Regions from separate parts of the Homo sapiens genome. Here regions 1, 2, 3, 4, 5 and 6 are each linked to region 7. The links are contacts of gene promoters, found by promoter capture Hi-C in blood cells and fetal thymus (Javierre and others, 2016). All regions are on one chromosome and are shown on one strand. The core of a region is centred on a gene start or on the middle of the fragment in contact, and the rest is flanking DNA. Distances in the headings are between cores, read along the strand shown.

What was found. Contacts are between HindIII fragments. The CHiCAGO score rates a contact against its expected background, and 5 or more counts as called.
Region 1: a contact is called between a fragment that was not itself captured here and the fragment with the promoter of MARCHF7 in region 7, in 2 of 17 cell types (naive CD8 T cells and total CD8 T cells). The highest score is 6.7, in naive CD8 T cells.
Region 2: a contact is called between a fragment that was not itself captured here and the fragment with the promoter of MARCHF7 in region 7, in 2 of 17 cell types (endothelial precursors and erythroblasts). The highest score is 7.6, in endothelial precursors.
Region 3: a contact is called between a fragment that was not itself captured here and the fragment with the promoter of MARCHF7 in region 7, in 2 of 17 cell types (megakaryocytes and endothelial precursors). The highest score is 6.7, in megakaryocytes.
Region 4: a fragment that was not itself captured here is called in contact with the fragment with the promoter of MARCHF7 in region 7 in 1 of 17 cell types (megakaryocytes); the score reaches 6.0 in megakaryocytes.
Region 5: a fragment that was not itself captured here is called in contact with the fragment with the promoter of MARCHF7 in region 7 in 3 of 17 cell types (endothelial precursors, erythroblasts and megakaryocytes); the score reaches 8.7 in endothelial precursors.
Region 6: a fragment that was not itself captured here is called in contact with the fragment with the promoter of MARCHF7 in region 7 in 1 of 17 cell types (neutrophils); the score reaches 5.1 in neutrophils.

Annotation. Positions count from the first base shown.
Region 1 is chr2:159,209,078-159,212,909 of GRCh38, forward strand. The region is part of intron 19 of TANC1 (tetratricopeptide repeat, ankyrin repeat and coiled-coil containing 1); the gene reads left to right. Among named protein-coding and RNA genes, the nearest start is that of MIR6888, 24 kb to the left of the region's middle. RefSeq lists enhancers at 746-965, 2,270-2,884. The HindIII fragment of the contact is 2,978 bases long and covers 72-3,049 here.
Region 2 is chr2:159,316,557-159,320,687 of GRCh38, forward strand. It overlaps BAZ2B (bromodomain adjacent to zinc finger domain 2B), which reads right to left. Exons shown (of 37, transcript NM_013450.4): 37 at 2,423-3,862. The coding sequence ends at 3,709. Among named protein-coding and RNA genes, the nearest start is that of WDSUB1, 32 kb to the left of the region's middle. The HindIII fragment of the contact is 747 bases long and covers 1,114-1,860 here.
Region 3 is chr2:159,336,345-159,340,619 of GRCh38, forward strand. BAZ2B (bromodomain adjacent to zinc finger domain 2B) reads right to left here. Exons shown (of 37, transcript NM_013450.4): 32 at 1,223-1,428; 33 at 598-733. Among named protein-coding and RNA genes, the nearest start is that of WDSUB1, 52 kb to the left of the region's middle. The HindIII fragment of the contact is 1,456 bases long and covers 908-2,363 here.
Region 4 is chr2:159,257,017-159,260,873 of GRCh38, forward strand. It overlaps WDSUB1 (WD repeat, sterile alpha motif and U-box domain containing 1), which reads right to left. Exons shown (of 11, transcript NM_001128212.3): 6 at 2,794-2,827; 7 at 929-969; 8 at 742-848. Among named protein-coding and RNA genes, the nearest start is that of WDSUB1, 28 kb to the right of the region's middle. RefSeq lists a silencer at 82-250. The HindIII fragment of the contact is 4,157 bases long and covers 1-3,329 here.
Region 5 is chr2:159,232,009-159,235,971 of GRCh38, forward strand. It overlaps TANC1 (tetratricopeptide repeat, ankyrin repeat and coiled-coil containing 1), which reads left to right. Exons shown (of 27, transcript NM_033394.3): 27 at 1-651. LOC105373716 (a long non-coding RNA gene) reads left to right here and starts at 2,699. Exons shown (of 2, transcript XR_002959431.1): 1 at 2,699-3,257. WDSUB1 (WD repeat, sterile alpha motif and U-box domain containing 1) reads right to left here. Exons shown (of 11, transcript NM_001128212.3): 11 at 3,790-3,963. RefSeq lists enhancers at 1,450-1,619, 3,002-3,171 and a cis regulatory region at 1,535. The HindIII fragment of the contact is 3,153 bases long and covers 54-3,206 here.
Region 6 is chr2:159,360,498-159,364,743 of GRCh38, forward strand. All of the region lies in intron 27 of BAZ2B (bromodomain adjacent to zinc finger domain 2B), which reads right to left. Among named protein-coding and RNA genes, the nearest start is that of WDSUB1, 76 kb to the left of the region's middle. The HindIII fragment of the contact is 4,300 bases long and covers 1-3,547 here.
Region 7 is chr2:159,710,863-159,714,952 of GRCh38, forward strand. MARCHF7 (membrane associated ring-CH-type finger 7) reads left to right here and starts at 1,644. Exons shown (of 12, transcript NM_001282805.2): 1 at 1,644-1,744; 2 at 3,695-3,736. It also overlaps a transcript of BAZ2B not described here. RefSeq lists silencers at 1,093-1,602, 2,123-2,242 and enhancers at 1,219-1,885, 1,653-1,932. The HindIII fragment of the contact is 3,093 bases long and covers 1-1,929 here.

The sequences.
Region 1 (3,832 bases), core at 311-2,810, 500 kb before region 7:
ATGTGACTGTACCTGGGCAGTGCTGGCTTCCATTTGTGAGGTCACTGAGCAGCAGCGCCCCAGCCTGCAGAAGCTTCAGTTGAGGCTGGCAGTGTTGGAGGCTTGTCCCAGACACCAAGGCTTGGGGTGTTTGTCTCCCAGTGCAAGTACAGTTTTCTGGAAGAGCCATCTTGATTACCTTTCATTTTATCCTTTAAATTGTTGAGGATTAGGTTAGATAACTGCCTTGTCTTTGTAGAGGTGAAAAATTTATAGCTCTTGGAAAGTATGTTCTTCTTTCTAATAGAAGCCTTCCCCTCGCTCAGAGACGGGAGGAAATGCCTAACAAAGAACACAGTGAAGCTATGAAATTTGGCTTCTGTAAATCTTAGTCCTATTTCTAGAAGGTGGGGCGGGGAGGCAAGGCACATTGCCTGGCCTTTTGGGGAAAGGTTGCTGCTTTCAGCCAGGGAATGTGGGGGCCAGCTTCCCTGAGGCCCTCAGTGTGACGGCCGAGCTCCCAGTGGCAGCAAAGCGAGCCTGACCGGTCAGCCGCCATATAGCCACTTAGAGTCAGTTACCAAGGCAGGGTGGGCAGTCATTCCCAGAGTTTAAAAAAAAGAAAAAATCCTAAAATCCCTCATTACATTTTACCATTGAGATAAAGTAGCTGAGAAATGTGCAGTGTGTCAGGCACACTCTTTCCTGGTGTTCTCTGCCTTTACAGTTGAGCAGGGTGTGGCCATCGGGCCTGCCACTGAGGGTCAAGCATCACTGCCTTCACCACATCTCACAGTTCTCACCTTGGCCACAATTAGATGACATTTGTGAGGACCCTGCTGCTTTCAATTAATGTTGACACTCATTTTTTTCATTTTCCACTCATTTTTTAAAATATGGGAGAGGCCAGGATAATAGGAAGTAAATTGCACATGTGAATACAAGCAAGTAAATTGCACATGTGAATATAAGCATACAAGCAGAGCCCAGCCGCCCTGCCCTGCCCTGCCCGCAGTGCCCTCTCAGCTAGCAGGAAGTGGGTTCTGCAGGTACAAGCTGTTCTCTGGAGGTACTCAGTTCCAGTTTGCAGAATGGTTTTCATACATCCGTGGGTAATGCATGAAAAGGTCATAGTCTGCCAGCGGGAAGCAGCTTCTGTGTGCGCTGACCCTGCCGCCCTTCTCTCCAAGCCCCCAAGTTGGGTCCAAAAGCAAATGTGGGTGGGAATACAGACCCATTGTTGTGATCTGTAAGCCAAGCGATCCTGAGCCTGGGGAGCACATCCTGTGAATTTGAGTGACAGATCTGCTTTAAAATTTTAGGAATAGCCCTGTTTGTGGAATGACTGTGTCCCCGGCAAGTTGACAATTGAGTTTTTGCAAATCAAATCTTTTCCCAGAGAACTTTAATATATAAGAGATTCCTGCAAACCATCCATTTTATGGTGCAAAAAGCTCTCTCACTGCTGTTTCCAATACGTTCAGATTGTTGTCAGGTTTTGTTTGTTTGTTTGTTTTTTGTTTTTTTTTGAGATGGTGTCTTGCTCTTTCACCAGGCTGGAGTGCAGTGGCGAGATCTCGGCTCACTGCAAGCTCTGCCTCCTGGGTTCAAGTGATTCTCCTGCCTCAGCTTTCCCGAGTAGCTGGGATTACAGGAATGTGTCATCACGCCCAGCTAATTTTTGTACTTTTAATAGAGACAGGGTTTCACCATGTTGGCCAGAATGGTCTCGATCTCTTGACCTCGTGATCTGATCTGCACGCCTCGGCCTCCCAAAGTGCTGGGATTACAGGCATGAGCCACCATGCCTGATCTTTTAATTTTTTTTTTTTTAAGATGGAGTCTTGCTCTGTCGCCCAGGCTGGAGTACAATGGCACAATCTCAGCTCACTGCAACCTCCGCCTCCCAGGTTCAAGCGATTCTCTTGCTCAGCCTCCCAAGTAGCTGGGATTATAGGCGCGTGCCACCACTCCCGGCTAATTTTTGTATTTTTAGTAGAGGCAGGGTTTCACCATGTTGGCCAGGCTGGTCTTGAACTCCTGACCTCAGGTGACTTGCCCGCCACAGCCTCCCAAAGTGCTGGGATTACAGGCATGAGCCACTGCACCTGGCCAGTCAGGTTGTTCTTAAAATGAACGTCTGCCATTACAAACCTACTTGCCTTCTCAAGACAGGACAGTGTTGCTGAGGTATGTGCTTTCATGGGAATCTAATTCACAAATGCCATCTTGTTAAGGATTTTACAACTAGAAGAAATTGTGTCCAATTTGAGTCCTAAAAAGTGCCATCTGTTCACGTTGATTTTTGAGCTCCCATTTCATACCAAGTCTTTTTTTCTCCATCTTTGTATTTCATTGGCCAGAAGGCAAGGTACTGCCCATAGCAAGGCATTCTCTTCTCCTGCCCTCCCCTGCCCTCTTTTCCTTCGGGTCAGGTGGGGTGCATTAACCCTCACTGGAGCCTGGTGGGCAGCACCAGAGGTCGGCCTTTGCAGCAGAATAGCTGGAATTCCTGAGCATAATTTAGCCATGGTTCTGTTTGCTTAAGCATGTGGGTGGCTATTCTTCAGTCTCTCTTGTGTTCGTAAGTCCCTGTGGCTGCTAAAACTTGAGATCCCCTGAAAATGGCAGAGCCTCAGGAGTTCGCCGTGATGGCCCCAGAATACTCAATCTGCTTAGAAAAAGGAAAACACAGATCTTGTTGTCTGTCTGCATCATTTGTAAACGAGAGCCTTGTCAGGAATTTGTGTGTAGAACGTGATCTGTTTTAAGCCTGAGCATAGTCTGCCTGTGCTTACAGGTTTTTAGTTGCCTCAAGAGGGAGTCACCAAATACATAGCAAGGGTTGTGAAGGAAAAGGAGGACAGGGTCCAACCCAGTTGCCATGCCCGGGGTGGCGCACTCGCCCCTTGTCAGTTGCTCCAACTTGTGGTTTCTCTGATGCCCCTGTGAAACAGAGGTCCCTATTTTTAGTGCTGGACTGTCATTTCTGATGTGCTGCTGTTGCAAAAATTCAGTAGCAGCTTTAACAGAAATCCTGATTTAAAGGCCCCGTTTATAATGTAGATGAAGCTTGTTTACCAAATAAAAGAGCAGAATGCTGTGGTGGATTGGCTGCTTCAGATCTCATCAAATGGAAGAGTCCTGTGTTTATTCCTTTGCATGGCATCATGCAAAGGCCCTGCCTCTGCGTGGAGCCCATGCGTCTTTGTTTTGATTCATTCCTTCTTCTGGTCAACCAGGGAGAGGAGGAAGAGGGAGTTGTTCCTTGCCTAGAGGAAAATGGCAGAGCAGCAGCAGATCCAGGTAGTGGTTCAATACCCAGATCTTCTAGCGTAAGAATCATGCGTGTTCAGGGTCACGATCAAATCAATCCAGAAAATGTATATTGTAGGAGAGGAAGAAATCACTTCATCCCTACCCTTCACAGTTCTTGGGACAGACTGCAGCAACGAAAGACAGATTAACACAAACAGAAGTTGAATAGTAGGTATATCTTGTGTTGTATCCATGGGAGATACCCAGAGAAATGAGTCAGTGTCCAAGAGGTGGCTTAGATTTTAGGCTTAAAAACCATCATCCCGGCTGGGCATGGTGGTTCACGCCTGTAATCCCAGCACTTTGGAAGGCCAAGGCAGGCAGATCCACGAGGTCAAGAGTTGGAGACCATCCTGGCCAACATGGTGAAACCCTGTCTCTACTAAAAATACAAAAATTAGCCAGGCGTGGTGGCACATGCTGTAATCCTAGCTACCCAGGAGGCTGAGGCAGGAAAATGGCGTGAACCCAAGAGGCGGAGGTTGCAGTGAGCCGAGATTGTGCTACTGCACTCCAGCCTGGGTGACAGGGCGAG
Region 2 (4,131 bases), core at 237-2,736, 390 kb before region 7:
GAGGATACCTGTAGTCCCAGCTACTTGGGAGGCTGAGGCAGGAGAATGGTGTGAACCCAGGAGGCGGAGCTTGCAGTGAGCCGAGATTGCACCACTGTACTCCAGCCTGGGTGACAGAGCAAGACTCCATCTCAAAAAAAAAAAAAAAAAAAAAAAAAAAAGAAAGAAAAGAACATTTTAGTGGCTTATGTCTGTAATCCCAGCACTTTGGGAGGCTGAGGCAGGCAGATCATCTGAGTTTGAGAACAGCCTGGCCAATATAGTGAAACCCCCATCTCTACTGAAAATACAGAAATCAGCCAGGTGTGGTGGCACGTGCTTGTAGTCCCAACTACTCAGGAGGCTGAGGCACAAGAATCACTTGAACCCGTGAGGCGGAGGTTGCAGTGAGCTGTGATCACACCACTGCATTCCAGCCTGGGCGACCGAGCAATACTCTGTCTCAATAAAATAAAATAAAATAAAATAAAATAAAATAAAATACCTCCTTTATTCTCCTTGTTGAAATAAAATTCTTTTAGGAAGACACAAACCTCTTTCATTTCTCAAATGGAGATATTTGAAAAGCAAATAACCTTGAAAGAGGAAGCTCATAAATTAAAAGTACAATTAGGAATAAATGTCTGATAGCAGATTTCCTTGTTGAGGATGTGTTTAAAGGGAGAAAGCTAAAGGGACAGAATTTTGAATTTCCTTAAAGAATATGGGGATTGAGGGGCTGGAAAAGAGAAGGAGCATGGAGGGGTACATTAAGGTACTAAAGACAGATTAGATCCTTCATAATTCAGATTAAAACTGGTGCTTGTGACAAGTTTTATTTTGGAGTTGGAACAAGAAAAAGATCACCTTGCATTTATGGTTAATTTACTTCTTTTGGGTTTTAGGTGTACCTATAGACACATCTTCACCTGTTTAATTTTCACTGTGGTTAACAACTCAAATATTACTTTACTGTCTGCATACTGTTTCAAACTGATGATTATTTTCTGTGTTCAACAGTAGTGGATTGTTTGGTTATCCTTGGTTGGTCACCACTTGAGTGGTAATCTAAATCTAAACTTGAAAGTAGGCCAGTTTCTTAATAATTTACAGATTTTAGGACTAAAATGAGGAAGCTTCAGGTGAAAGCCTAATTTATCTTAAGGAAAATATGTTGTATATACTTGCAATTATGTGACAGCAGAGAGAGTTAGGATAATCTTTTTTTTTTTTAATTTGAGGAGAACAATGATACTGGTTTTATTGAGAATAAGCCCAACCAAGGGCACTGGGAGTGCATGAATCACTTACATAACAAGTGATCCACGTATGTATAGTAACCACTGTCATGTGCTCCAACCGCAGCCCTTGTGGGCTCATGCCCACTCAGTGTTTAACAGCTACCTCTGCTGAGTAACAACAATGAAGACACCAGTCCGAAGTAGCCAGTGTTTACCAAGCCTTTCTTTTTTTCCTATTTATTTTTAAAATTATCACTCTCAAAAATTTTGGTGTGTGTGTTTAAGTACTTTCTTATTTATGAGCCCCTGAGGCACCAGACATGTTATTATCAAGCCCCTTATATACCATCTAATATAAATTAACATAAGCATATATAATCTCTAAGGCAAAAAAAAATCATCATGAAGAATCCCCATGGAGCATCAGGCAGTTCTAGAAACACAAAAACCAGACACTTTTATTCACAGTGCTGCCTTCTTCCCTGCTCTACAAAGCATTTTTGCTTAAGCACCAGCCCCTTTAAGGCATCACTGCAATATCTGGTTAACAGAAACTGACATATTTACATAGTAACAGCTGATTTTTCATATAAGTCTTCACAAACAATCTAGAGATACTGAAAATACTCTGTGGCTTTGAAGCTTTGTGAAGTTAAAAAAATTTTTTGCAAAACATTTCTATATTCTCTCTTCATGATAAAAAGCAGTGGACATTATCTAAGGCCCACTTCAAGGGGCTATAAGCTCCATGAAGGCAAGGCCTGTCTTGTACGCCAATGATTCTCCGGAGTCTGGCGGAGCCCAGCAGGGCAGCAAATTGCATTTCTTGAATTCTTGGAGAAATACATGTCTTATTAGACTAATTTATATATCCGTTTTTCTTCTTGACAACTGAGTTATTTGGCTACCCATAGAGGCATTTTTCAGACCAGAACAAGATCTAATGTATTCTAATATTTTCATCTTGAAAATGTGAAATAAGAAAGAAGACAAGGTTCGGAGAAGTTCGCAGACCAGAGAGGTTTTCAGGCTACAGAAGTTTGGCCACCTGACTTAAACTCACCCTCTTCCACCCAGCCCAGTGCTCTTTGAACCACACTCTACACACTGTTCCTCCTACAGGTCTCTGTAAAAATCAAATTTAAATTAACTGGCTTTTAAAAAAGAATATATTTTCAGGTACATTAAGAAAAACTAAAAAATTAGTTTGTAAAAGTCTTTTATTGTATCCGTGCCACACATAGTGAAAAATAACACTCCTAAAAAAAGAATGCTACCTTTTCCACAACATTTTATTTTAAATAAAACTTCAAGTACTCTTACGTAGGTACAAAAAAAATCTGATCTATTTGCCTCCAACAGGCCACCACAACACACAGTAGATAAAACACAGTGGTTACAAACGTCTTTTAAATTTATTTCTGAGGCAAGGCAAATGGGAGGGAAATGTTTCTATGAAAAAATACTGTGTGCGTAGGAAATTGTCACAATTTTATTCCACATGGATACAAATGATTATACTTTAATTTAGGCCCTGGTGGCTTAAAATTATATAACAAAATAGAAAAATGGAAAACTAATATCCCCTACACCCTGTTTCAAAGGCAGGCACTACCAAGATTAAGGAGACGCCACAGTGTTGGTAGAGGATAATTACTGTACAGACTGTATAGCTATCATTACCTTCAGACGAAAATAAAATGCTACAATCCTCTAAGGCATGAACAATAATGTCTGCAAACAATATATACACATAATACATATTTAAAACAAGACTTAATATAAACAAGAATGAACAGTATATACATGTCAATTTTTTCACTGTTTTGAAATACAATTTAACTACACAAGTGATGCAGCAACATATATATATAAATGTACTTGTAACTCTACAGTAAAGTTTCTTTTTGGTGCTTTTATAGCACATCAGTGTAAACAGTTTAACTTGGCTTTGTTTTATATTTTAAAACATTCCTTGTATTTTCAAGATTTAAAGCAATTTTCTAGTTCTTCCTTTTCACAGAAAACGAAGATTCTGGATGTGGTTTAATCATAAATAATTCATAAAATTAAATACATTCACTAAAAAATAAACTACAAAGTAAAAAAATGAAAAATAGATATTTATTGAGAGGGAAAGGAGAACCATTTCCCACATTAGAGCTCTGGTGTTGAGTATTCAGTGCGATTTGATATATTTTAATTGCTATTGCACTATAACACCCTTTCCTTTGAAAATTCTTTGGGTGTGCTTCCCTGTTCTACCTAAATTAGCTGATAAATCACACAAACCAATAACCGAGGGCCTTGGTTGTTGTAGGAATGAAGCCTTTAAAAATGGTATCATTCTTCTGATACTTTTTTTTTATACTTAAGGAAAAAGAAAGTCATTATGTATGTGCCTTGCACGTTTATGTAAATACAGTTCACATTGCTGGTCTCATTTGTCCTTGTTTAGAAGGAAAAAAATAAAGAGATTATTATAACTTCAGCTCACTTTGAAAGTATCTGTCCACTTTTTTTCAAAATACTTCCTCATATTGTGGCCAGCTCTGCCTATATCAGAATCATCTTCATTAAATGTTTCACAGTTGTCAAAAACAAGCCTGACATCTAGAGCAAAGGTTTCAAGGTTTGGATACCTGAAAGAAAACAAATAATTAGAGATTGCGTTCATAGAGTGGATTTGTTTTGTAAACAAATGAAGAGTTAATAAAGGGTAAAAATGAAAGAAAAATGATTAGGATAACTGCATTTAAATTGATATAAAATACATGATATCCTCTTACAAATGGAACATTTAAACATTTTTGTATGTTCTGGAACATACTGGATTTAAAGAACAGGTTAAATGAAAAAATAGGTTTCTCCAAAGATCAAAACATATTTCAACTGGCATTTTCCCCATAAC
Region 3 (4,275 bases), core at 386-2,885, 370 kb before region 7:
AATAGAGATTTTTGTGATAAACTAAATGATAAACTAATTGGGGTTGTAGAAAGAAGGTGGAAAACCAATTTTAATTAGTAGAAGACAGACTAAAGGATCTACTGTTCATGTCAACCACATCTGATGCCAAATACATGATATAAGCACATAAACTAAGAGTTCTCTGCTTATCTTGTATTTACTTATCTAAGTGCTTCTTAGAATTAAAAAATGAAAACTGATAGAAAAAGACATTTTAGCTACGCAGTAATATAGCAGGTAATGTTAGCAATGGAACTGTTTACTACAGTGAAACAGCCTTCAAGATTTAGATTAATAACTATTGTGCTGATGGAATGTGGGAGACAACTTCAGTTAGAGGTATAAACGATATTCAAAGGAGGCAGAAGCAAGATTTTAAAAAATAAAAGATAACACATTTGAAAGGTTCCTTCAGTAAGGAGGAAAGTATCAAAAATCTTTTAGAATTAGAAAAACTCTCAAGTATAGCATACATTATTATGACAATAGGTAATGTATAATTAAGAAAGATCTGGAGGTTGGAAGAAACAGGACAAAGTAAATTAGTTATAATATTTCTTAAATAAAAACACTTACAACTTTCATAATTGATTTTTCCCATGCTATTGATTTCTGTAATTGCTGAATGCACAGAGCTACCTGTGCAGCACTGCGAGCTTCTGATAATGCCCTTCTCCATACCCTGAGCCCTGGAGCAATATCCTCTTCAATTCTGCATTGAAATATAGAAAAATTAAGTAGGTCATGTCCACACTTACGATTACGGAATGTGAAACAATCATCACACTGAAAGCCAAGCAATGACAAAAACATGTAACAGCCAATAAGTATAAGGTTTAAGCAACTAAATTTGATGTAGTGCACAGACTGTGGCTACGTGCCTCAAAGCTTAGTCACAACCAGGTAGATGTAAGATCACTTTGCAGGATTATCAACGCACATAACAAAAAAAAAGTTTTTACAAAGCACCATGCAAATAGCATGATCCGTATGGATCACAGACATACAAGAAGATACATAGATAACAGGCAATAGAAAATAGGCTCCAATTAGCAAAGAAGCACAATAATTTTTCAAGTTAATCTCAATAACCTACCCGTCACCATCACCACTAACGGATGGTGCAGGAGCAGGGACAGTAACTGTGCCCACATTATCCAGTTTGATCTGAATGGTGGTACTTAAGGGGCTCTTCAGATACCTTCTTTCAATGTTCCGCTCCAAATCAGCCAGCCTGGTTACAGCTATATCTAGGGGGTTGTCACTCTTCCGTTCTAGTGCATGTGCACTGCTTTCGTCTTCGCCAGTAAATTCTCCATCATGCTCCTTGCACAATTTAGTAAATGATTTATGTTCAAAATATACCAAGTCCTCCCTTTCTGATGCAGGCTCTGGACACATCCAACCCTATATATCAAGAGAATAGTGTTATTATGGTTTCCTCTTAAAATGCTAGGTGGGTGAATTACCTTTACTTAAAATACAGCATTGGATACTGGCAGATCTCAAGGATTGTTACTAAAAGATTTTACCTTGTGTTTCCTAAAACTAGGTGGAAATAAGAAGAAAAAAATTAAAAGAAATAGTTGTAAGAAAAGTTTGAAAAATAAAATTTATAAACTTTTGATATTATAAAAGGTATAAGAACAATCAGCAAAATATTTTGAAGGATTTTAGACCAAAATGCTTATCAGTTTCATGGGATCACTTAAATGGAAATCTCTGGGTAGCCTCTGAGCCTTTGCTCTTCCTTTCTGTTTTCATTCCTTCCATTATTCTTCTGTACAGGTCCTTCTGTGCTCACCATTTTTCCTTTGACTGCAGGGGCTTCAAATATGCTATTACCTTTATCTGTATTGCTTTTCTTTTGCTCCTCTTCACCTAGTTAACGCCACTCATTTCATAGGTCTCATGTTAAGATTCACTTTAACATGAAAGGATCCTGATAGGAATCCTTTCCTGACCTCTTTCAGGAGCTAAGTCCCTCTCTGACAGGTTCTCATAGGACCATGCTCCTTAGCCTTGTCATAAATGTAATTTTATAGTAGTGTAATTATTCGATGAATATTTTTCTACTTCTAAATTCCATGAGAGCAGGGACTATGTCTGCTTTTACTCATTTATCTCCAGTACAGTGCAGGCAAATAATGGGCACTCAATACATGTATGTTGACTGAACAATCAATGATCCTGTAGCTCAAAATCCTTCAAAGATTTCCTATTCTTTAGGAAATGTTCACCATGGCATTGAAGTACCTCAATCTATCCCTTTTCATGTTCCCATTCACACATCTTATGTTGCAGTCAAATTCTATAATTTGCTCTTCCACAAACATGAGATAAGCTTTCCAATCCTCGTGCTCTGCTCATGCTGTTCCCACTTCCTGGGATGATATTGCCTGGTCTCCAATTGTCCAAACCATACTCATTTTCTTAAGTTCCATTTCAACTTCTAAATGAAATCTTCCATATCTCTGCCAGAAGTCAGTATTCTTCTTCTAAATTCATACATTACTCTGTTCTCAACAATCAGCTACTAGATTCTGCATATATGTATATGTCTGATCTCCCTATTATATGACAAGCTTTCTTATGGTAGGAACGACACTTTATCCAATTTTTTGGTGTCCACTGCCTGAGATGCAATAGGTATTTAATAAATGCATATTAAATGAAAAATGGAATAAACTTAAACATCTCTTTAGATATAATTATTTTATCTTATATACTAGGATAAATTCTTCCCCTTTAACTCAGTAGAATATTTATATTTAGAAAGGAAGGATGGACTCTAAAATGGTGTCACAGATACAAGCTGGCTTCAGTTCCTGCCTCCAATGCCCTCCCCGTCCCTGCCGCCAACCACTCAGAAAACCCAAAATAAATATACGGCACTGAGACGATCACCAGCAACATCCCAAAATTCAAACATGAGGATGAGATAGTTCCTGTGGCAAGAGAGAAGTGAAAAAACTCTGAGCAGATGGTAAGAGAACTGGACTTCCATATCCACGATGCTTCTCTACCCTCATTCTGCCAGGAACCAAGCACACAGAAAACTTCCCCCTAACTCACAGTTTCTACACTGAAAAAAGTGAGATCAAGATAGACAACCAACTTATCCACTATGAAAAACAGTGTGAAAGTTCCTCAAAAATCTAAAAATAGAACTACCATACGATCTAGCAATTCCATTAGTGGGTATACATAGAAAAGAAAGAAAATCAATATATGGAAGAGATATTTGTACTCCTATATTTACTGCAGCAATATTCACAATAGCTAAAATATGGAATCAACCTAAATGCCCATCAACAGATGAATGGATAAAGAAAATGCAGTATATTTATAGGATGGAATATTATTCAGTCATAAAGAAGAATGAAATCCTGTTATTTGCAGCAAAATGGATGGACTGGAGGACATTATCCTGGGTGAAATAAGCCAGATACAGAAAGACAAATTATTATATATTCTCACTCATATGTGAGAACTAAAAAAGCTACTCTACTCTAGAATGTAGAGAGTAGATTGGTGGTTACCAGAGGCTGAGAAGGGTAGGGAGAGAGTGAGAGTAAGAGAAATTGACTAATGGGTACAAATATATGGTTTGACAGAAGAAATAGGAGAATACATAAAGACAATTAGACAAAATCTGGAAAACAATTCATGATTTGAATGAGAAAATCAACAGAGACAGATATAAAAAAGAACCAAACAGAAGTTCTAGAGCTAAATAATTCAATGAATAAAGTAAAAAATACAAGACTAGATCAAAAAGACAGACTAGACCAAGGGGAAGAAAGAATTTCTGAAGACAGGTCGTTTGAAGTAACATAGGCAGACCAAGGGGTGGGGGGAAAGAAAGAAAGGAAAACAAAGAAAAAGGAAAAAAAGAAGGAAAAAGCCTATAGGATTTATGGGACACCATTAAGCAAACAAATATTCCTGTGGGTGTTACAGAAGGTGAAGAGAAGGGAAAGGTGAGGAAAAAAAATTTAATGAAATAATAGTAGAAAACTTTCCACATCCTGGGAGAAAGAGGAAAATTCAGGTACAGGAAGTTTGAAGAATCCCAAGAAATTCAACCCAAACAGGTCCTCTTTGAGGCATATTATAGTCACCCTGTAAGAAGTCAAAAGACAAAGAATTCTGAAAGCATTAACAGTGTCAAGTCACATATAAGGAAATCTCCATTAGACTAACATTGGATTTCTCAGCAGAAACCTTGTAGGCCAGGAGAGAATGGGATGA
Region 4 (3,857 bases), core at 1-2,500, 450 kb before region 7:
GAGATGAGTTCTCACTCCCTTGCCCAGGCTGAAGTACAGTGGCGTGTTCTCAGCTCACTGCAGCCTCATGACCTCCTGGGCTCAGGTGATCCTTCCCACCTCAGCATCCCAAGTAGCTGGGGCCACAAGTGCACACCCCCATGTGTGGCTAATTTTTGTCTTTTTTGTAGAGATGGGGTTTCACCATGTTGCCCAAGCTAATCTCAGACTCCTGGGCTCACGCAATCCATCCACCTCGGCCTCCCAAAGTGCTGGGATTATAAGTGTGAGCCACCATGCCAGGCCAAACTATTTTTAAATGACATTAAATTTGGATGTATACTTTATATTGATAAAAGCAATGTGAATAACCTGTCAAATGATTTACTAACTTTTTTTTTTTTTTTTGAGATGGAGTTTCACTCTTGTCGCCCAGGCTGGAGTGCAATGGCACGATCTCAGGTCACTGTAACCTCCGCCTCCCAGGTTCAAGCGATTCTCCTGCCTCAGCCTCCCGAGTAGCGGGGATTATAAGCATGCACCATCATGCTGAGCTACTTTTTTGTATTTTTAGTAGAGACAGGGTTTCACCATGTTGGCCAGGCTGGTCTCGAACTTCTGACCTCAAGTGATACACCCACCTTGGCCTCCCAAAGTGCTGGGATTACAGGTGTGAGCCGCGGTGCCCAGCCCGATTTACTAACTTTCTGACCCTAATGGTGAGTGGGGTTGAAATGAGTGAAAAATGATGTCCTTACTAACCTTGGCAAAGTGTTTCCAGGTCAAATTGCCAGATGTTCACTGTTTTGTCCATTGAACCAGTAGCAAGTAAAAGGGTATTAGGTGCAAAAGCACAAGTTGTGACATACCTAGTTAATAAAAACAACTATTATGTATCTTCTGACTAATTTTTAAATTATATTAATACAAGGTGAGGTTAAGTTCAGACCTGGTGTGCTGAGTCAATGTGTGAAGTATATTCTCAGTATTCTGAAAAACAATAAAAACAGCTTTAAATTTACTCAAGTAAGAGTAAAGTTACTGATGAAGACTCATTTGACATAAATGGGTTGTATACTAAGTGGATATATTAATATTTATTAGTAACTAACATAAGTTGAAACTTTACTCAATGAATAGCAGAAACAGCATCTGTAACAGCATTCTCAGGTACTTACTTCACTTTTTGTCAATTATCGGCATTATTGTCTGCTAGCCACCTCCTTAGAAATTTTTAGTACAGTAGACCCTTGGCATTTGCTCATCTGTTTGAACCTACTAATAGTAACCTAAACATCTATTACCTGAAATAATTCATATTTTTGACTATGGCATTTGACTTGTATACATTGCAGGACCAGTGAGTAGAAATTAGTCCCTTGGCCGGGTGCAGTGGCTCACACCTATAATCCCAGCATGTCGGGAGGCCGAGGCAGGTGGATCACTTGAGCTCAGGAGTTTGAGACCAGCCTGGCCAACACGGTGAAACCCCATCCCTATTAAAAATATAAAATATTAGCTGGCATGGTGGCACGTGCCTGTAGTCCCAGCTACTTGGGAGGCTAAGGCAGGAGAATTGCTTGAACCCGGGAGGCAGAGGTTGCAGTGAGCCAAGATCGCACCACTGCACTACGGCCTGGGCAAAGGAGCAAGAGTCTGTCTCAAAAAAACAAATAAATAAATTAGTCCCTTAGAGTACACTAAGGTGTCCATCTAACATTTTAGGTGTATTTAAGTGGGACTCATACATATTTTACAGAGACAATTTAGTGTTATAATTGTTTTTGAGAATGTAAAATCTCATGAAACGTTCATGAGAAATATTAAAGATTTACCTCACCTAGCTTGAGTATTCTTTCCCATTTCCTGCCAGAACACTCAGTGACTCGAACTTCTGTGTGGAAGACTAGCTTACATCACTTGCTTAACTCGCTACCCTTTGATTACTTATATCTCCATTTATTTGCTGGCATAGCTACAGCATTAGGAGGCTCCACTCAACATTTTCTTCTTTTGGACAATATTTTTTTCAACTACTTTATTTTTGAGACAGGGTCTCACTCTGTTGCCCAGGCTGGAGTGCAGTGGCACAATCTCGGCTCACTGCAACCTCCACCTCCGGGGTTCAAGCCATCCTCTTGCCTCAGACTCCCAAGTAGCTGGGACTACAGGGACGCGCCACCACGGTCAGCTAAGTTTTTGTATTTTTGGTAGAGATGAGGTTTCACCATGTTGGCCAGGCTGGTCTTAAACTCCTGGACTCAAGCCATCTGCCTGCTTCAGCCTTCTGACATGCTGGGATTACAGGTGTGAGCCACTGCACCCGGCCACAACTTGGTCTTTACCCACACATGGATCAGTAAAAAACTCCCATTTTCCAAGTCCATGATAACCTATCCTTTCTTATGCCTCTCCCTAAATCCAGCCAGGACTCTAAGAATGGTAGGTCACTTTCAACCATATTCACCAAAAACCCTAGGGTAAACATTCATCCTTTGCTATTATGGAAGCCTGGTGTAAAAGTTTAATAATTGATTGTATGTGATGTTTTGAACACTGGTGCTCTTTAAATATGTATAGTTTATGATCACATTTAAAATCTATCCATCTTAAAATCATTACTGAAATATTTAAGGGCTTGTTGCAGAACCAATATCTTACTTGCGTAACTATTTTAGCATTTGTGAAAATATTTATGTTCTTAGTCATACTAAACAGAAAAAATATATACTTTTTCTACCAGGCCTAACTTGAAGTTCAGTAGTCTAATAAACATAACTTTCATAGATCACCACAAGATTTTTAAATACTTACAGTATCATATACTATGACAGACTTATCCACTGACCTTAAAAGAAAATAAATTATAGGTGAAAAGTTCTATAAAAACAAAGTACAGCATTTATGTAATTAGTATTTTTAAGTAATTTTAGTAACTTTTCTAGAAAAGACAGATATTAACATACATTTAGAATGCAATCCTTTTGTTCATATGCATGAAAACTTTAATTCAAAAAACTACACGTGGCCAGGCGCAGCGGCTCACGCCTGTAATCCCAGCACTTTGGGAGGTTGATTCGAGCGGATCATGAGGTCAGGAGTTTGAGACCAGCCTGGCCAACATGGTGAAACCCATGTCTACTAAAAATACAGAAAAAAATTATCCGGGCATGGTGGCGTGCACCTGTAATCCCATCTCCTTGGTAAGCTGAGGCAAGAGGATGGCCTGAACCTGGGAGGTGGAGGTTACAATGAGCCAAGATCATGCCACTGTACTCCAGCCTGGGTGGCAAAGTGAGACTCTATCTCAAAAAAAACAACATGCCATATATAAAATTTAGAAAATTATAAGCTTTATTAAAACAATAGTATATACTATTTACGCTACATGACCATGAACAGAACAAGCATCTCTGATATATAAATAAAACACGACTCTATAACAAGTTAGTAACTGAATGGGAAAAACCACAAGGAAAAGCTATTATTTGCTACTTGGTTTTGTTTCAGATAGCACTATTCTTTACCATTGATAAGGCGTGCCTTAAATGCTAATCAATGTATATATGTTTTGATTATGATCCATTTTTGAAAATTATAATTCTAAACTTGATGTTGACTACATGATTCCTTGTAATGGTATAAAAATTAAAAGCAGACATCTGGGGTTATGCTAGCAAAGAAAAAGAACATCACACACACAAAAATACAACATTATAACAAAATGAGTAATTTAAAACAATGGATAAATATGCCTCTATCTGGCATTTCTACCCCCCTTGGAAACAGGCTTTTATGCCAGAACAATATACACTACAAGGTGAAAAAACATCTGCAATACAAGTGGTACCACACTCTGCAGAACATTAATATTTGTA
Region 5 (3,963 bases), core at 380-2,879, 480 kb before region 7:
TTAATCTAAAAACAAAAAAGAAAACCCCAGTCACGATTTGCATGTTCTCTGTAAGCTTCATCCATGCTGGTTATTGCACTGAATGATATATTATTAGGGCATGTTAACAGTATACCAGTAACAGCACTTTATCTCATTTATATGAACACCTTTGAGGTGCTACTTAAGTCCAAGCTCTGATGTATTATTCATTTGTAAAGATAAGGTACAGGAATGAACCTTGGTTTAAAGGTATTTTTATATGAAAATGGTGTGTTATTGGAAGATGTTAAAATGCTAATTTGAGAGAAGTAGGAGTGTATCTGTTTTATATGTTGGGATGTGAAATTTATTTTCTAAAATTGAGGAGAAGGAAGTTATATATTTGCAGAATGTTTTAAAGTGAATTGTTGTAATGAAGTTCCTGTGAACATCATTATGGTTTTGTACAAATAGGAACCTCTGATGTCATTCTTCAACGTTTGTTCCTGTGTGTACAATTGTACTTTGTATGAACAGCTTTATCATTTTTATAGGCTTTCCATGAGTTTTGCTGTAACTACTATGGCTTATTTATTTTCTTTAATATTTGTGAAAGTCTTACTCCTTTGTTAGTTTTGTTTCTGCACAACTACTGTACTTTTCCATATGGAATAAAGACTATTAATAGAATGTGTTTTGCACTAAATGAGTCAATGGATAAGTAGAGAACAGCCTGATGACAGCTATCTCTGTTGCTTTTAATCTTTGTTACCCTAGAGGGAATAGTGAAAAGCATATTTTATATTAACACTACAAAATGCTTATTTAATTTCGTTTTATAATTTCAGAATAAGGGTGACAGCTGCTAGAAATTCCACAATACTCAAGGGCCAAATTTAGTCTTTTTGCCTCAAATAGAAAGAAAGCATGCAGGAAAGCAATATATACTTCCTATCTATCTGTTTCAAGACATCTTGGTGTCTGTTTTTACTGGCAACGGGACATCTTTACTACTGTAATTCTCAAACACTTTGGCAATACACTGAACACTGTTATGACAGTTTGTTCTTTAACACATTTGTATTATCTTTCAGTTAAAAGTATGTCTTTATGCCTACATATTTCAAAGTAATATGAGAGAGAACATTAAACTGTGTTGTATTGTGATAAAATTCTTGGAATCTTAAACATCATAATACCTCAGGTTATTTGGTCACTGCTCTTGCTAGCAAGGCTAAGTAGTTTCAGTCCTTTAGAGCTTTATATTTAATGGAAGGTTAAAAACAAAAACGGGATGGGAAGGAACGTATCGCCTAATACATAATTCTTGTCATTAGATGATTTTTCCTGTAAAGGAGCTAATAAGAATATTCTCGTAATTTATTGTACATTATGATTTTGATATATACTTAGTAAAGATAAGTAAGGTACTTGGCCCAGCCAGGAAGAGGTGATACATCCTTAGAAAGCTAATGGTCAGTCCTGACAGGACTGGGTGGTGGGCAGGTGTTGCTGCTCCACATTGCCCTGAACTAACAGTGGGGTCTGGAGTGCCCAGCATGGGGGCTGTTTCATGTCCCCTCTTACTGATGGTTTTGGTTTGCTTGTGTGGAAGACAGTTGTTCGGCTTTGGTTTATGTTTTATACAAGAAGAGATGTGTCAATTAGGTAAATTACTGGCATCTTAGTTTTCAGCAGTTTTGTTTTACAAGAAACTAGCCTGGTAAAGTATAAGAATGCAAAATACTGGCTGGGCGTGGTGGCTCATGCCTGTAATCCCAGCACTTTGGGAGGCCAAGGCGGGCGGATCACGAGGTCAGGAGATAGAGATCATCCTGGCCAACATGGTGAAACCCCGTCTCTACTAAAAATACAAAAATTAGCTGGGCGTGGTGGTGTACGCTTGTAGTCCCAGCTACTCAGGAGGCTGAGGCAGGAGAATCACTTGAACCCAGGAGGCAGAGGTTGCAGTGAGCCGAGATTGCACCACTGCACTCCAGCGCAAGTCTCAAAAAAAAAAAAAGAAAGAAAGAAAAGCAAAATACCTTAACACTTATTTTAAAAAATGCCTTTTTGGCCAGGCGTAGTGGCTCACGCCTGTAATCCCAGCACTTTGGGAGGCCAAGGTGGGCGGATCACAAGGTCAGGAGATGGAGACCCTCCTGGCTAACACATGGTGAAACCCCGTCTCTACTAAAAATACAAAAAATTAGCTGGGTGTGGTGGCGTGCACCTGTAGTCCCAGCTACTCAGGAGGCTGGGGCAGGAGAATGGCGTGAACCCAGATCGCTCCACTACACTCCAGCCTGGGTGACAGAGCGAGACTCCGTCTCAAAAAAAAAAAAAAAAAAAAGGCTTTTTGCATTTTCTAGCAATGACTTTGAATGATTTAATTTTTATTTAAAAACCAGCTAACCTCCTCCATCGGAAAATGTCTATCAAAACAGAGACAGCTGGACCAATGGTAAGTTCTTTTAAGTTTAAAAAGTGTTCTGCTGAAATTATTAGCATACTTTATTTAAAGAATACAACAGAAAAACGGCCGGGCCTGGTGGCTCACGCCTGTAATCCCAGCAACTTGGGAGGGCAAGGCAGGTGGATCATGAGCTCAGGAGTTTGAGACCAGCCTAGCCGACATGGTGAAACCCTCTCTCTACTAAAAATACAAAAAGTAGCTGGGTGTGGTGGCACGCACCTGTAATCACAGCTACCTGGGAGTGAGGCAGGAGAATTGACTGAACCCAGGAGGCAGAGGCGGCAGTGAGCCAAGATCGTGCCATTGCACTCCAGCCTGGGTGACAGAGCGAGACCCTACAAGAAAAGAATACAACAGAAAAACACCTAGAACATGCTTCTAGCCTTTCTAATCCTCAATAGTAAGAATGTGAGAAGCATGTCATATTAATAAAAAAGTTTTCTGGAACCATTGATTATGAATCCTAGTTATGTCGTAAAGGTTAACAAAGTTTAGCAATACATTAAGTTAAAAAGGTTTACAAAGAATTACAAAGAAATGTTTGGAGATTTCCATGTTAGCAAGGCTTGCTGCCTTTCTGTGAACATGCAGCATATTAGCTATGAGTTCATAAAATGCGTAGTCAGCCTTTTCCTATATTTACATTGCTTTTCCCTTTTTATTTCCAAGTTTCAACGTTCCTGAACAATTCTTCAGCAACTGGAGGTAATAGTGCAAAGAAGGGTGCAGTCCCAGAGGCTCAGCCTGCGCTGACAGTGAAGTTCTAACAAGCTTCCCGCGGATGGCTTCCATTCTAGTAACAACTTTGGACAGGCAAGAAGTTAGCACCACCTTTACTTCCTGAACCTGAAGTTTTTTTTCTGGAGTGAACATATCAGGCTATTGTGTAAAAATGCCTTTGTATAGTTACTCCAGCTTAGAATTATATGTGAGAACATTTAATAATTCTTCATTCTGAAGGGAGGCTAGAGTTTGTCACGTTATATATTTCAGCAAAGTCAACTTGACTTACTCAGAATTTATTTCATCTAACTTGTACCTAGGTTTGGAAAATAAGAAAAAAATCGTTATCCTGCAAACTTAAAATCCAAAAAAATTGCTTCAACATCTGAAGTGATTTTTCTCCATTTAATCATAAACAATCTACAACCATTTTGCTACAAAATGGTCTCTTTAAAAGGCCTCCAAAGAGTTATTGAATGAATGGCTATTACCTAGAATGTAAACATCTGTTATTCTAGAGTAGTCCAACCTTTAGTTATAAAGAGAGATGACCTACATCTAACAAGAATAAATGTGGGCACTGTTGGGAATGATAGTAAGAGGAATTTAAAAAACTTAGGACACTGCAATTTAAAGTATAACTTTATTTCTATATAGCTGAAGATTCTTTTCACTAGTACAAAAAGGCTTTTATAGTAAGTCCATGTGTTTTTTAAAGAATGAAAATTGACAATTTTTATAGGTAACTAAATTTAAGAAGTTTACCTTTTTCCTGTTTTGCTTTTAATAATGTCTGATTAGTA
Region 6 (4,246 bases), core at 148-2,647, 350 kb before region 7:
AATCAATATTGTGAAAATGGCCATATTGCCCAAAGTAATTTATAGATTCAATGCTGTCCCCATCAAGCTACCACTTTCTTCACAGAATTAGAAAAAAACTACTTTAAATTTCATATGGAACCAAAAAAAGGTCCCATATAGCCAAGACAACCCTAAGCAGAAAGAACAAAGCTGGAGGCATCACACTACCTGACTTCAAACTATGCTACAAGGCTACAGTAACTAAAACAGTATGGTACTGGTACCAAAACAGATATATAGAACAGTGGAACAGAACAGAGGCCTCAGAAATAATGCCACACATCTACAACCATGTGATCTTTGACAAACCTGAGAAAAACAAGCAATGGGGAAAGGATTCCCTGTTTAATAAATGGTGTTGGGAAAACTGGCTAGTCATATGCAGAAAACTGAAACTGGACCCCTTCCTTACACCTTATACGAAAATTAACTCAAGATGGATTGAAGACTTAAACGTCAGACCTAAAACCATAAAAACCCTAGAACAAAACCTAGGCAATACCATTCAGGACATAGGCATGGGCAAGGACTTGGTAACTAAAACACTAAAAGCAATGGCAACAAAAGCCAAAATTGACAAATGGGATCTAATTAAACTAAAGAACTTCTGCACAGCAAAAGAAACTATCATCAGAGTGAACAGGCAGCTTACAGAATGGGAGAAGATTTTTGCAATCTAGCCATCTGACAAAGCGCTAGTATCCAGAATCTACAAAGAACTTAAACAAATTTACAAGAAAATATAAACAACCCCATCAAAAAGTGGGTGAAGGATATGAATAGACACTTCTCAAAAGAAGACATTGATGCAGCCAACAAACATATGAAAAAAAGCTCATCATCATGGGTCATTAGAGAAATGCAAATCAAAACCACAATGAGATACCATCTCATGCCAGTTAGAATGGCAATCATTAAAAAGTCAGGAAACAACAGATGCTGGCGAGGCTGTGGAGAAATAGGAACGCTTTTACACTGTTGGTGGTAGTGTACATTAGTTCAACCATTGTGGAAGACAGTGTGGTGATTCCTCAAGGATCTACAACCAGAAATACAATTTGACCCAGCAATCAATCCCATTACTGGGTATATATCCAAAGGATTATATATCATTCTACTATAAAGACACATGCACATGTATGTTTATTGCAGCACTGTTCACAATAGCAAAGACTTGGAACCAACTCAAATGCCCATAAATGATAGACTAGATAAAGAAAATGTGGCACATATACACCATGGAATACTATGCAGCCATAAAAAAGGATGAGTTCATGTCCTTTGCAGGGACATGGATGAAGCTGGAAACCATCATTCTTAGCAAACTAACACAGGAACAGAAAACCAAACACCACAAGTTCTCACTCATAAGTGGGCGTTGAACGATGAGAACACATGGACATAGGGAGGGGAACAACACACACTGGGGCCTGTCGGGGGGGTGAGGGTCTGGGGGAGGGATAGCATTAGGAGAAATACCTAATGTAGATGACGGGTTGATGGGTGCAGCAAACCACCATGGCAAGTGAATACCTATGTAACAAACCTGTATGTTCTACACTTGTATCTCAGAACTTAAAGTACAATGAAACAAAAGAAAACAAAACAAAAAACAAACAAATTAAAAAAAAACAGTGAACTGGACTGGAAAAAAAAATCCTTGGTTTTGGCTGGAAGGCCATAGGGGCTTTCTTCTTTCCCACTTCCCTGAGAGGCAGCAGCAGGTCAGAAGGCCTTCAGCTGAGGTCAACACTGTTCTCAGCGTCCTCCCTATGTAGACTTTGACCCTTGATATGCATATGTCCTAGCACTGTTTCTAAACCCAAAGGTCCCTTGATAATGTTTATCATTACTCAGAAATTAAGTGCTTTCTACTCTTTCTCACACTAATGCATACAGGGCAAGGTGTGGGGTACAGTGTTTCGTCTCTTGGAGTGCTCTTGCTGCATGTCCAAGTCCTGTGGAATCATTATGGAGGCTGGGAATCCTGTGTACGGTTACTTCTTTGCTTGTAGGTTACTCTCACTAACAAACTTTGCTGCTATTAGCACCATGTGTGTTAGTGGTTTGTGTAACCATCTTGTACTACAGTTGGTGCCCAACAAAGTCCCGATGTCATGGCTTTCTGAAAGAGGAGAACCCATGGGTCAAAGAATTTCTCCTGGGGACAGTGGTAATTCACTTGGCAGTTAGGATGGTCTCAGTAGCTACGCCTGAGAATGGCAGAAGCCCTCAAGTGGTAAAGAGGGTTTCCAGTGGCTTGAAATTAAGTTCTATCTCTTCTCCTTATCAGCTTAGAGATTTTCAGGAGTACAAATTGGTAGGGTGCACTAGAAAGGGTGTGGTAGTCTCTCTAGAAGGGAAGGTGGGGCAAATTCCCACTGTTTATCTGTAATATGAGGCAACTGGTCCTGCTGTATGTGAAGCCAGTTACTGTGAGGCACGGTGTACAGGAGCCTGAGTGAGAACACCAGCAGGAGGAGATCCAGCATTATACAGAGCAAGAGCAAGACTCTTATTAGCTCCACTACTGTAGGGATAGTAGAGGCTTGGCCTGCTAATTTGCATGGTTAGGAGACAACAGTGTTGTTAAGGGAAGCTGAGTAAAAGGAAACACATGACCTGGTTAAACAATGAGCAGTCTGGGTTGACTAATAACACTGGGGCTGATGTTGTAACCCTGCTTCTAAACTGGATGCTTGGTAGCATGGGTAATACGTATTACCATTGGGGTGATTTTCCTGCCACTTGAATGTGAAATGGACTAGATCCACAGATAGTGTAGTTACTCTAACACACTCTGAGACAACTGGCTGTGTTAGCGTAATTATAAGAAAATCCAGGGTTTGAGTAGAGAATCCCTGACAACATGCTCTTGGTGCAGAGAATGTTGGATGACCGAATCAGAGCAGGTCCTCCTAAGTGGACAACTGCTTTGACTTATTCCTTCATCTGGGAGGCAATGTTGGACATGAAATAGTTCTTTTTAGGTCATACAAGCCCCACAGCAGAGGCGGAAATGGAAAGAGACAGGGTCTCATGAGATGCACAGGTTTCTGCCCAAAATATAAAGAAAGAAGGAACAAAAGAAGGAGTAGACCGATAGGCTGAACTCAGGCAATCTCCCTCACACCAATAAATGTGATATTGCTCATAAACAGAAGGAATGATAAGACAGAAATTGAGAGACGGCCTAATTCTTGAGTGTGGGAATGTAGTCCTATTCAAAAAGTTAAAAGACCCACTGAGACTGTGGAAAAGGGACATGTGAGATGAAACATGATACTGAATAGTTTACAGACTTGAATAATTATTGGGAGAGGTGGAGTCACCAGAAGATTAGGTGAAGAAGGTCCCTGGGGAGGACGAGGGCTATTGAGCTTCATCCACACAAACTGATAAGATCTAAAGGACATAGAGACAGGGAGATACTCTGCATTATCTTGACTCTGGAAGTGGCATTGCTGGTGGGAATGCTCCTAGTCATCAGCTCCACTTTGTGAGTTTGAGTCAACTCTAGAAGCCAAGCTTCTTTGTTCCTAATCTGAGCCCTTTCAAACTCAAGGAGAAATACAGGTGGGCTCAGTCCCCTTTACTCTCTTCCAAGGGATCCCTAACCATGTACCCCAGATGATTATGCTGGAAAAGAGAAGAGCCTCCAATATTTACGGGTTTGCTAGAAATGGAGGACCAAGTATCATAGCTCCAGACTGCAGAAGAGCTCTGGTAAACAAGTTCCTCAACTGGGGTTTGGAGTCCATGTTACCTATGGCTGAAAGATTAGAATTACAATCACTGCAACGGCTTTTGGACCTTTTGCGTGAATTCTAGTTGTTTCTTTATCAGGGTGGGGTAATTAAGTCCACATGTCAGTTGGACTTTTTTTCTTTTCGAGACAGGGTCTTGCTCTGTCCCCAAGGCTGAAGTGCTGTGATGCGATCGTGGCTCACTGCAGCCTCGAACTCCTGTGCTTAATTGATTCTGCCACCTTAAACTCCTAAGTAGCTGGAAGTATACCTGGCTAATTTTTCTGTAGAGATGGGGTTCCACCATGTTACCCAGGCTGGTCTTGAACTCCTGGGCTCAACTAATCCTCCCACCTCAGCTTCCCAAAGTGCTGGGATTACAGGTATAAGCCACCATGCCTAGCCCTTAGTTAGACATTTTTTGTGACTTCTGTTAGTAGCTTCTATAACTGTTGGCCAGGTATGTTGCCAAAACCCAC
Region 7 (4,090 bases), core at 394-2,893:
TTAGCATAATCTTGAGAAGATGTCTAAGAGACCTATGTAATATTAAGTCACAGAAAGAAACAATATTATTGGTGGTTTAGACATGGAATGTAATAGCTAACAATTACGGAATGCTTACTTGTTTCAGGAACTGACGTGTTATCTCATCTAAACAATGCTACAGAGCATGGGTACTGTTATTAACCCCGTTTTACAGGAAACCTAGGTTTAGCAAGGTTAAGGAATTGCTTGAGATAACAAAGGTAGTAAGAGGCAGGGGTGGAATTTGAAGCCATATAGTCTGGTTCTTCAGGGTGTATACATCCGTGTATCTATAACCACAATGCTGCAGGGGCACTCGAACAGGCTGGAAAAGAATTATTTTTCTTTAAAGGGCAAATTAATTTCCTCAAAAGTAATCTCTGTTCACTTTATCCCATACCAGATGCTTATTTTCATTTCATATCCTAAAAGTTAGATTGGCACTTACATGCCAACTTAAAATACCTTTAAGTCTTTAAAATTTATAGTATTTTAGAATTTATCATAGTGAAACATGTACAGTCTGTTAGTCCCCAAGACAATAAAATAAGGATGATAGTGACTGATACTCCATTCCCTTCCGATGTAATGACAAACACGTAGAAACACTGTGTTTCATTTATTGGAATTATTTGGATCCAAAGGATTGCTTTTAATACCTTAACAAAATAGGTCATTAAAAAAAATCAAGTGCCTTTCAGTATTCTTCCAAGTTTCAATAACTGATCTTTTCCATTAAAAAACTTTTGATTCATTATTCCAAATCAACATATCATCTAAATATTTACACATAGTTAGATGTAGCTTTTCCCTAACCTACTCCCTTTTATTTATTAGTACTCATTTACATCTTAGTTTGCCACATTTACAGTTCTTTGAAAGTTTCATCTAATATTCACCAGACCATTCACCTCACAATTTTCCTCCCTCTTTCTAAATAGGTGAATTTGTTTACTGCAAAATCGATGGCTACGCTATTAAAGGTTACTATCACGATTTTAAAAGACATGATCACCATCATTTACCAAGATTCTTACCACAAGGAAATGATCACAAGGTTGGACAAACAGGCTCCAACTCTTAAGGGAAAGGGCTTGCAGTTAGATCACACAGGGCGGGCAGGGAAGCAAGCGGGGAGGGGTAGGTCGGAAAAGGCAGTGCTTGATTCAATTCAACATTCACTGCGCCACTTACCAAGAGCCAGAAAAAGAAAAAAAAAAAAAAAAAAAGCCAACCAGCTGGGCGTTATTTCGAGCACGGGGCCCTGCAGGTGGGCCTGTGGGCGGGGACCCGGCGCCCGGGAGGGAAGGGGCTGGCTCAGAGACTATAGACGGGCGGGGACCGCCCCGGCCCGGGCCTCCAGCGCCCGGCGCCCGCACACTCGCCAGCCCAGCTGCCGGCACGCCGGCCAGCCAGCCGCTGCCGCTTACCAGTGGCGCCTCGCTGACTCCCCGGGGGCAGCTCTTCAACGGTTCCCGCAGTCAGAGCACCACCCCGCGGTGGGGTACCTCCAGCCCGCCCGCAGCTCTCGGTCCCCGCCGCGCCGCCACTCTCGCGAGAAGCCAGGAAGTCCGCGAAGTGGGGGGAGGAGGAGCAGGGAGGGGCACTTAACGGTGGTGGCTGGTTCTGCGCCGGATCCGGGAGAGGGGCGGGCGCCATTGTGCTTCGCTGCCGACTGCATTTCCTCAGTCACGGGCCTAGAACTCCAAGGAGAAAGGCGGCGGTGCGTGTTGCTGCGAGTGGGACGCGCACTGGTCGGTGCCGGCTCAGGAGCCGGGGTAATGAGCTGCGGAGCTAGTTCTTCTCCGTCTTGGGCGCTAGTTCGGGACCAGGCCGCGAGTGGGGGAGGGGAGGAAACGAAGAGGCCTGGGGACGCGGAGGCCGCTTCCTCTCAGGATGAGGTGGAGAAGCTTGGTCCGGGGCCACCGGGGCCAAGGGGCCACAGCGCAGGCCTCCCTTGCCAGGGGCCTTTGGTCGGGTGGTGGAGTTTGTGGCGGGTGCAGGGGACAGATTGTGTGTCTTCCTCAGGGACGTGTGGCGGGTGACGGGAAGAAGCCTGAGCCCTCCTTTGGCGCGGGGCGGCCTCCTCTTGGGCCGTGGGGCGGGGGGTCTTCGGAGCCCTGCGGGCCGCGGGTGTCGCGCGTGAGCTCGCCGGTGAGCGCGGGGCAAAGGCGGGCAGGGCTCCGGCTCGGCCAGCCCGGCCTCGAGTCGAAGTGACTTCGGTAGCCCCTTAGATTCGGCCAAGATTGTCTTATTGGTAACGTCAGTTTTTGAATATCGTGACGCCCTGAGAGTTATTTTTGTGTTGTGGTGAATTGTGGGTTCTGCAACTCGAAGTAGGTGATTGTATTAAAAATGGACCTGTTGGCCTAAGAAGTAAAAATATAGAAGGCGCCGGGAGTAGGAAACTCCCTCATTTTGGTGAAACTGCGTATTGAAGATGTGTGTCCACCCCCTCACCCCAAAATGCTGCACTTAATACTTTTTCTCAAGTACCAAAGTAAATATATTGGGAAAGTCTATCTGGGTAATAAATTCGTCACGACTAATGTTGTTTGTTACTATTAGTTAAATGTGTGAAAACTGAAATTTGGCGAGGTTTTCTCCCCCATTTTGTAGGATTGATTAGCTATTTTTCTGATTACATGTTATTTTAAATCTCCACCTTTCTGTCCAGAACCAAGATGTAGGATTAAAGATGAATTTTCGATTTAAAAATCCAATAGTATACAGTTATTAAGAAGGCACACATGTAGTGTAACTAGATCTTTTACTTGAGGTAGCAAAAAGTTTGTTTGAGAAATGAGGTCAGTATAATATTTTTATTTAACAGCTCTACAGCATTTTGGGAGACAGGACTGGTGCATGAGGCAGTAGCACCAGACTCAGAAGACCTGGGTTTGAGTCTTGATTTTTGCCATAGTTATTTAAGTTCACGAGATTGTCTCAGAAACATGGCAGTTAATTTCTAGAGAGGATTAAATTTGCTGAGGTGGTGTGTGAAGCAGTCACTAGGGGACATAATACTAGTCTTGGTTTTTTTCCAAGTTTAGTGCTGGGTCAGGTGTCTTGAATTAAGAATTCCTACTTATTCAAGTACAAATGATTTCTTTTTTCTGCCACCTGGAAGAGGGCTATTTTCCCAGATAAAGCACGAGGATGCCCAGGTTATGTTCTACATGAAGGTGTCAGGTAACGAACTTGGACACAAAAGTCATCCATGACTCTCATGTAGCCAATTTTTAGTCCGCTCCATACCCACCTTACACAACTCTTTTATCTGCTCTATGTTCAAGAATCGTCTACATTTTGACATTTTATTGTAGGAAAATAATTTTATAATGCAAAATCTGTCAAATATCTTAAAACTTTTTTAGATAATTTGTAATTTGTTGTAGTCAAATTACAAATTATGGAGAGCTTCACATTACAAGAATGAGCTTGACATGGCATCTGCCCTCCACAACTCACTGTTTAGTCATCAGACTAATGTATAAACAACTATTATTATCTTAATATGACTGTACAGTGGTTCTGTGGGAGCATAGGGGAGGGGTGCTTAATCTTGGAAATTTTACAGGATTTATTTATTTATTGCCTGAACTAAGATGTGAAGGCTCACTAGGACTTTGATAAAGAAACTGCAAAGTCATGATATTATGGTTTGTTTTAGGAATTCATGATTTGTTCCTGTAGCTGAAACATACATTGAATGGTAAGTTAGAGCCCGACATAAAAGACTTTCTGTACTGTACTAGAAAATTAGTGTCTGGGTGTGGTGGCTCACTCCTGTAATCCCGTCACTTTGGGAGGCCAAGGTGGGAGGATCGCTTAAGGCTGGGAGTTCAGCCAGGCCACAAAGACCCCATCTCTACGGGCATGGTGGTGCGGGTGTAGTGGTGCGCACTGCTACTACTAGCTACTTGGGCTGCTGAGGCAGAACGATCATTTTGAGCTCACGAGTTGCAGAGACTGCAGTGAGGTATGATAGAGCTCCACTGCACTCCAGCCTGCACCACAGAGTGAGACCCTGTCTCTAAAAAAATAAAAATAAAGTTAGTGCTCTATG